Regions from separate parts of the Homo sapiens genome. Here regions 1 and 2 are each linked to region 3. The links are contacts of gene promoters, found by promoter capture Hi-C in human tissues and cell types (Jung and others, 2019). All regions are on one chromosome and are shown on one strand. Each heading gives the region's core, a stretch centred on a gene start or on the middle of the fragment in contact. The rest is flanking DNA. Distances are from core to core; before and after follow the strand shown. Region 1 overlaps RAB3C (RAB3C, member RAS oncogene family). Region 2 overlaps RAB3C (RAB3C, member RAS oncogene family). Region 3 holds the start of ACTBL2 (actin beta like 2).

What was found. Contacts are between HindIII fragments. The study calls those that stand out against the background at their distance.
Region 1: a fragment that was not itself captured here is called in contact with the fragment with the promoter of ACTBL2 in region 3 in 1 of the 25 tissues and cell types used here (dorsolateral prefrontal cortex).
Region 2: a contact is called between a fragment that was not itself captured here and the fragment with the promoter of ACTBL2 in region 3, in 1 of the 25 tissues and cell types used here (dorsolateral prefrontal cortex).

What each region holds. Positions count from the first base shown.
Region 1 is chr5:58,780,402-58,783,290 of GRCh38, forward strand. All of the region lies in intron 3 of RAB3C (RAB3C, member RAS oncogene family), which reads left to right. Among named protein-coding and RNA genes, the nearest start is that of RAB3C, 200 kb to the left of the region's middle. The HindIII fragment of the contact is 3,377 bases long and covers 1-2,889 here.
Region 2 is chr5:58,586,679-58,589,487 of GRCh38, forward strand. The region is part of intron 1 of RAB3C (RAB3C, member RAS oncogene family); the gene reads left to right. Among named protein-coding and RNA genes, the nearest start is that of RAB3C, 5.0 kb to the left of the region's middle. The HindIII fragment of the contact is 3,938 bases long and covers 1-2,809 here.
Region 3 is chr5:57,481,402-57,484,101 of GRCh38, forward strand. ACTBL2 (actin beta like 2) reads right to left here and starts at 1,410. Exons shown (of 1, transcript NM_001017992.4): 1 at 1-1,410. The coding sequence starts at 1,306. The coding sequence ends at 176. The region is part of intron 1 of RMEL3 (enriched in melanoma 3); the gene reads left to right. The HindIII fragment of the contact is 3,416 bases long and covers 1-2,700 here.

The sequences.
Region 1 (2,889 bases), core at 203-2,702, 1.3 Mb after region 3:
TTATGTATTTAAGTATAACAAATTATTAAAAGCACTCCTTGGTTACCAATATCTCTTCTGGTTCTCCTTTCTAAAGAAAAATATTGGTCTGGATCCTTCTTTCTAACTTACATGCAGTCTTTGTCCCCAAATCATCTAAGTCTAGATATCTTGTTTCTTACTCCAGGGACCTTAGTACCTAAGTTTTGTCATTTGCTTATGCACTGGCTCCAGGTATTACCTTATGAACTGAGTGCTTACAATGCATTCAGCAAAATTCAGACTGTGGCTGTGTGATGCTGCCACTCTGTCTCCCTAGACAGGGTGAGCCTATGTCTGTTTCACGACCCTTTGTGGCCAACTTGTTGCTGGCATAATCAGTGTTCTGGAATATCCTGAGATCTTAGGTGGAGGTTTTCAAACCCTCCTTTGAAGGAAGTATGGCTTCTTCCTTAATGATGGGGCTAATAAAAAATATTAAATATATCATAGTAGTCACAATTTCTTTCTCCATTGTAAAGAACTTGTGACTACTATGATATATTTAGTATTTTATTATTAATTACCTATCTTGTAGTCTGTAACTATGTACCAGCTATAATTTCATTCAGATCCTCTTTGCTTCTGTCTAGGATTCCATATGTGTTTTGTTTTTCCTGAATTAGACTCTAGCCCTATCTCTGAATAGTAACTAGAACTGCATCATTTCTCAAGGCAAGAAGAAACCCCTCTAAAAATGAATGAATAAATGGGAAATCAGTCAAATAAAAAAAAAGTTAAGACCTCCAGCAAAAATACTCATAGATGCTCATCAGTGTCCCACCTGACTCCACACAGTATGGCCCTCTAGGATTTCATGTTTGCATATAACCTTTGGGTGAGAGAATGATCTGCTGCTAGGTAGATATGATTGGTTAAAATTAATACTTGTATATGTATTTCCCTACTATTACTTTAGTTTCTTTTATTAAAACTTGTAAAAGTCTTCTAATTTGGCTTCTGTATTTCTGAGCATTTCCTTTCTTAACCAGAGTTCTTCATCTGAATATGACTTAAGTAACTATTTTCTTAGTTCTCCTAAGCATGGTTCCTAACTACAGTAGCACCATTCTAGATGCACAGGGAACAAGTTAATTTATTATGTAAAATATATACTTTGAAAGCATTAAGGCTTAATTCTTAGTTGAAAAAAAAAAGTAGGGTTGGGATGGAAACTCTATGTTAATCTTCTTAGATTACTCTTTTGTTCATGTTTCACATCATCAGCCTGCGCAGAATCTACCAGTGGCTCCCTGGTACCTATACAATTAGGTTTAAACCCTTAGCATGTAGAGCTCCCTATAATCTGGACTCAACCTACACTGTATCTCTTCTCTCTCTTTATCTGGGCCACTGGGCTTCACTCTAGTTCTCCATCCCACCCTGAACCAAACCAGAATGTACTCTTCCAACTTCCTCCTCCCTCTCCACTACCCCAGTCCCTGACTTTCATCTCTGTATGTCTCATTTTACTCATTTTTCAAGGTCAAGCTTAGATTTTATATTCTACATAAATTTTTTTTTGATTCTCCCTTCTACCGAATCTCTACCACATTTTACTTTTTAAAAATTTTTGTAATACTTTTCACTATCTTTTGAGTGCATATCTTATCAACTGCTCCAGCCTGAAAGTCCTCTGAGTAAAACTGTGTTTTACGTGTATTTGCATCCTCTTTTACCCCTTATCCCCATGACTAAAAGATGTAAGGTCAATAAAGCTTTGGAGAGAGAAAGAATGAATGAATGAATGGGAAGCGGAATACATTGGCACTTGTCTACTGGTATACCACAGGTTCAGACTTCAACAGGTTAAGCAGGCGAGGCTTGGAAGAGAAAGCATCCTTGACATAAGTGAGCTTTCTCTCTCTACATGCTTGTGTGTTACATGACATGGTATGATGCCTTAAACTCCCGTCAAAAATCTACATGCCCCCCTACTTCCTCTAAGAGCCTTAAACCAAATCTTTTCTCTTAGGTTGTCCTCCAGAATTTCTCACCGCATGCTTTAACACCTTGTACACAGTATTTAAGTAGTATCTCCAAATGTGAATACTCATTATGCCCACCATTATATATATAATTACTCATCTTTGACAGTAAATGTTAAATATTTATTCCTATACTTAAACATAATGCACAGGATTCCTTTTTAGTGACTGCTAATGAGTTACTTTTTTCTAAATCAGCCGAAACATGAAAATTAAGCATTTTTTTCTGCTCAGAAATAATTTCAATGATAATAGTGTTAAAACTTTGCATTTCTAAAGTACACTGTATTTGAGAATTCTACAGAATTGTTGGAACATAAGTCATGCAAAGGTATGAATCAGTCAGCACTTCAGTAGGAATATTAGCTTTATACCCAGAAAGCACTTAACAGCCTTTGCCACCTGAAAAAAAGATAGGATAAGAATAATTTCTCAAGAGCCAGGATCTAGGACCACATTTACCTTTCAGATTTAAAATATGAAGGCTTTTCATTTTCACAGCCTTTGATTGTACTATGTCCCATAATGTTATTTTTTTTTTAATTGCTTCTATTCTTTCCTGGTAGGAGACTACCATGTAACCCCTTTTGATTTCCGAGAGATGTGGAATGCAGATCTGTAACACTGCATTTTCATAACTCTTCCTTTTTGCTTTGGATATATTTTTGTCATTAATATAGTACTGGCAGGTCTGAATGTGTTTTCCTAACCTTATTCCATCCTCCCTTTGCTAGGAGTTAATTTAGTGAGAGCTCAACCCACATAAATATACGCTTATAAAGCACAAATGCTCCCCAATCATAAAGAAAATGCCCCATGAGATACTGATCAAGGGACATTTTTTTAGATTAAAGGCTAAAAGATATCTTTACATCAAGCTCAG
Region 2 (2,809 bases), core at 4-2,503, 1.1 Mb after region 3:
ACTATTGAGGAAAATTCAAAGAAATATATCTACCCAAAACATGGAGCAGAGTGCCAAAAAAAAATGTTTGGCTAAAGATGAGGAGGATTGAAGAAGGACTATAGATGTAGGCTGAAGATGAAGTGGAGCTAAAAACCATTAGTTATATATTAAAGTTAGCCATACTGTACACAACACCAAATTACAAAGAATTAAAGTCTAAATATCACTGTTTTATTTGGCTATGGAAAGTACATGGCATTTTTGCACTTCATTATTGTTGAATTCCTAACCATATCCATCCTCAGTGATCATCCCTCTATCTTTCTGAGAAATGGACATGTAGTCCTCATCCTTTACAGAAACAGAAAATCCCTAATTGACTTTAGAGAAATGAGAAATTCTTCCTTACTCCATTTGGGCTAATTGCTCAAGTATCCACTTTTCTTCTGTAAAAGGAAGTGGAGGATAGCAAGAAAACTTAACCTATAGCAAAAATTCACTTTTGTAGTATAAGAATGCTTTTCCATTGAAACTGCAAAATTATCATAATTTTCTGCCACCATTCTAAGCTTATACTGGAATTGGCAAGTCCTTTCTTCACCATCATATTCCAGGAAGGAAATATATGTTTATGCTGAGGAATAGGTTTTCTTGAAACTACTCTTGCCCACTCAACTCGCTAAATACAAGCAGCTGGGCCACCTCAAAAAAATGTTCTTTTATATAGATTAAAGGTTTTCCAACCATTTTTCCCTTTCTTAAATTAATGTGGCTCAGAGGTTCTGTGGGAATCATCTTAGCAGGTCAGTCTATTACCAAGGATACTACAGCCTGTGAAGATTAAATCTTTGAGAGTTATTCAGAATAACATAGATCTTTAGCATTTTTCGTTCATTAGTTTATAGGTTTTTAGATAATATTTATATACATTGAAATGCACAAATCTTAAGTGAACAATTTGATAAATTTTGACAAATGTATAAATCTGTGTAACACACACCATTATAAAGATATAGAACATTTCTAATCATCCCTGAGTATTCCTTCATGGTTTTTCCTAATTAATATACCTATGCAGTAAACTTTTTTAGGTGAGACTTGAACTTGAGATCCCTGGGTTCTCCTGACCAATCACGGGTTAGCTGTGGGATTTTCCTGTGTCTCCTCTCTCCCTGGGAAGGTTCAAAAGTCACTCAGCCCTGCAGAGTGACTTAACCATAGGAGTTTGATTTGTTCTAGAACTTCATATAGTTCTGTAGAACATGCAGTATGAACATACTGTGGAACAAAAAAATATGTTCTTGTTTGAGTCTGGCTTATTTCGTTCAGCATAATGTGTATGAGATTCATCCATGTTGTTGCATGTTTCAATAATTCATTCCATTTTATTGCTGAATATTATACTTTTAAAATCAATTTAATATACTTTTAAAATTCATTATCCTGTTTATGAACTTGGAGGTAATTTCTAATTTGGGGATACTAAGAATAAGGCTATAAATGTTTTTTCTATTGTTCTTTTTTATGATAATATCTTTTCACTTCTCTTGGGTAAATACCTAAAAGTAAAATTGCTGGAATAAATGGTAAGTATATATTAAGCTTTATAAGAAACAATCAAATCTTTTGCCAAAGTGGGAGGACCGGCAATTCTCACCAGCAATGTATGAGAGAGTTTTAGTGGCTCCACATCTTCAACAGCATGTAATGTCAGTGGTCTTTTTAGTTTTGGCCACTTGGTAATGAGTGTTTTCTGGTATCTGATTATGATTTAAATTTGAATTTTCCTAATGATGAACGGTTTTTAGTATATTTTTATGTGCTTATTGGCCACTTATATATCTTCCCTTGTGAATCATGGGTTTTAACCTTTTATGCATCTGGGGGGTTTGTTTTTATTGTTTAGTTGCAAGAGATCTTTCATCTTCAGTTTAGTCCTTTGTCAAGTCAGGTAGATATATAAATAAAGGTTTCTCCCAGTTGGTGGCTTGTACATTCATATTCTAAATAGTGCCTTTTGGTGAGGATTTTTTTGAATTTTGATGAAATTTAGGTTAATTAATTATACCTGGGGTCTGTATCCAGACTCTGATCTGTTTGTCCTGACTCTGCGTCCAGAGGCCTTGCTATATTTATTTCTAGTTTTCTTTAAGATTCCATAAGAATTTCAACATAAACTATCATATTATTTACAAATAGAGATAGTTTATTTCTTCCTTCCCAAAGACTCTCTTTTTTTCCCCATATCTTATTGAATAGAATAGAACAACCAGTACAATGTTGAATAGACGTGATGACAGCGGACATCCTTATCTTGTTCCCCATTTTAAGAGGGAAGACCTTCCGTTTTTTATCATCAAGTGTGAAATTAGCTGTAGGGTTTTGTTACTATGTTTCTTTGTTTTGGTATAGATATTATTTATTATATTGAACAAATTTGATTTCTCGGTTGATGAGAAAATTTGTTTTTAACATAAGTGGGTGTCAAATATTGTCAAATGCTTGTTCTACATCTATTGATGTGATTGTGTGGTTTATCTACTTTATTTTGTTGGATTTCATGGATGGATTTTTTAGCTAATCTGGCATTCCTTAGATAAACCCTATTGGTCATGATATATTGTCCTTTCTATATATAGCTGGATTAAGCTTGATTATATTTTGTTAAGTATTTTTTTGCATTAGTCATGATGGATATTGGGCTATGATTTTCTCTTAATGCCTTCATGAAGTTATAGTATTGGAATTATGCTTATAAAACAAGCTGAGAAGTACTCTTTGCCCCTCAGTTTTCTGAATAATTTTGTTGCATAAGATTAGCATAGTT
Region 3 (2,700 bases), core at 160-2,659:
CGGATGTGGTTATCTGGGTAAGAGCCCAGGTTACTTGGATGGAGAGATGGGTTTGCTGGTTTACACTAGGAAGAGTGACGTATTTACCTCGATTCTACTGAAAGCGGATAAAAGCAGTACCATCACTGTGACCTAGGAAAAGGGAAAATGTAAGCCCACTAATATGGAAGCCCATTCAGAAACATTTTCTGTGAACGATAGGAGGACCAGCCTCATCATATTCCTGCTTACTGATCCACATCTGCTGGAATGTGGACAGGCTGGCAAGGATGGAGCCCCCAATCCAAACAGAATACTTCCGCTCTGGGGGAGCTATGATCTTGATTTTCATGGTGCTGGGTGCCAGGGTTATGATTTCTTTCTGCATCCTGTCAGCAATGCCTGGGTACATGGTGCTCCCTCCAGATAACACGGTGTTGGCATAGAGATCCTTGCGAATATCCACATCGCACTTCATGATAGAGTTGAAGGTTGTCTCATGGATCCCACTGGACTCAATGCCCAGAAAGGAAGGCTGGAAAATGGCTTCAGGGCATCGGAAGCGTTCATTCCCAATGGTGATCACCTGCCCATCAGGAAGTTCATAGCTCCGTTCCGGTGAGGAGGATGCGGCTGCCCTGACCATCTCCTGCTCAAAGTCCAGGGCTACGTAGCACAGCTTCTCTTTGACATCTCGCACAATCTCCCGCTCAGCAGTGGTGGTGAAGTTATAGCCTCGCTCTGTCAGGATCTTCATGAGGTAATCAGTCAGGTCTCTCCCTGCCAGATCCAGGCGTAGAATGGCATGAGGCAGGGCATAACCTTCATAGATGGGCACGATGTGAGTGACCCCATCCCCAGAATCCATCACGATGCCTGTGGTCCGTCCTGAGGCATAGAGGGACAGCACAGCCTGGATGGCGACATACATGGCTGGTGTGTTGAAAGCCTCGAACATGATCTGAGTCATCTTTTCCCGGTTGATCTTGGGGTTCAGGGGTGCCTCGGTGAGGAGGATGGGATGCTCATCTGGTGCCACACGGAGCTCATTGTAGAATGTGTGGTACCAGATCTTTTCCATATCGTCCCAGTTGGTGACCACTCCATGCTCGATAGGATACTTCAGGGTCAGGACGCCTCTCTTGCTCTGAGCCTCATCTCCCACGTAGCAGTCCTTCTGGCCCATGCCTACCATAACGCCCTGGTGTCGAGGACGCCCTATCATGGAGGGGAACACAGCCCGGGGGGCATCGTCACCACCAAAGCCTGCCTTGCACATCCCTGACCCATTATCCACTACCAAGGCAGACAGCTCATTGTCAGTCATGGTGCTGGCTGAGATCTTCCAGACGAGTGAACAGGACAAGTGAATAGACAGTGAGTAAGAGAAAGTGAACAGGCCTAAAACACTCCAGAAATGCTTTCAGACACGGGAGGCTGCACCGGGACCACAGGTATTTAAAGGAACACACTGACTCCGCCCATGTCCTACTCCACCAGTTCCCAGCATTTCTGGATGAGGTCATCTCTGAGGTATTAATGATGGTGATGATTACATAAACAATTAGATCTTTCTACATAAAGAGAAAATTGGCTGCCAAGTGGTCAAATCTCAGGTTCCTGTAATTAGGCAACCCACACATGACCGTCAGCCTGCCTGGTGAGGTCTCTAGATAACTATGATGATGCAGTGGGGGATATAAAAGCAAGATGAAAGAAAGCTGGTGCTAGGTATGGCAACACTGCTGGGAGGAAGGCTCCCTCCTTAGCGTCCCTGAGGATTCACTTTTCCTACACTAGCTTACCTTTTCATTCTTAAGATACTGTTCTGATGAGGGGTCTTACCCTGCAATCTTCACTTTTTCAAGATTTTTGTTTCCATTAGATTCCTAATCCCACAGGGTGTCATCATCGTAGAGACTGTTTTAGTAAATGAAAATAATAAATGGCTAAGGATGGCCTGATGGCTGTAATTACAATGCACTTGTGTCAAGCAAAATGTAGAGATATTTAATAGACTTCTAATCCATCAGAGATCAAGCGAAAGGAATAGAATGATTGCTAAAGTTAACCCATATAGATACTTTTTTCTGATATAAATTTCTAACAACCAAATTTCATTAAACATTTACTGTGTCTAGACATTGTTCATAGAACCAGGTTCATTGGGTCCATGTTAATTGTATAATGACTGAATGTCAACTATTTTGCATGATTTATTAAGATGCAGGTTATAAAAATTTATTTATTTGCAACAACTCTTGAGTTCTGCAACAATGGACAAAATGAAGTGATAAGACAAATTTGAAAAATTATATATTTAAACTAATCCTTAAAACATTTTGATCTTCAAGATACATATACTATATTATAACATTAAACCTCTATGTAGTTATTAAAATCTATACAATTAGAATTATACTAGCTTTCCTTCCATTTCAAGATATATTACACCCTGATCACTTCATAGCAACAATTTGTTTGGGTTCCATGTTTCATATAGAAATACAGACTACCTGAAAAGATGTGTATGATGGTAAAATGTAGGACATCAGCAATGTGTTACAGAGAAATAGCATTTAAGAAAGCTCATTACTTCTGCTCCCCTATGTGTTAGGCGAATAGAATATAATTATCTTTGTGAGCTCTTGTAAAGCAAAGAAATTTTCCATGTCTACATCTGAGTTCTCCAAAATAATCTTTATTTGGGTTCATCATTCA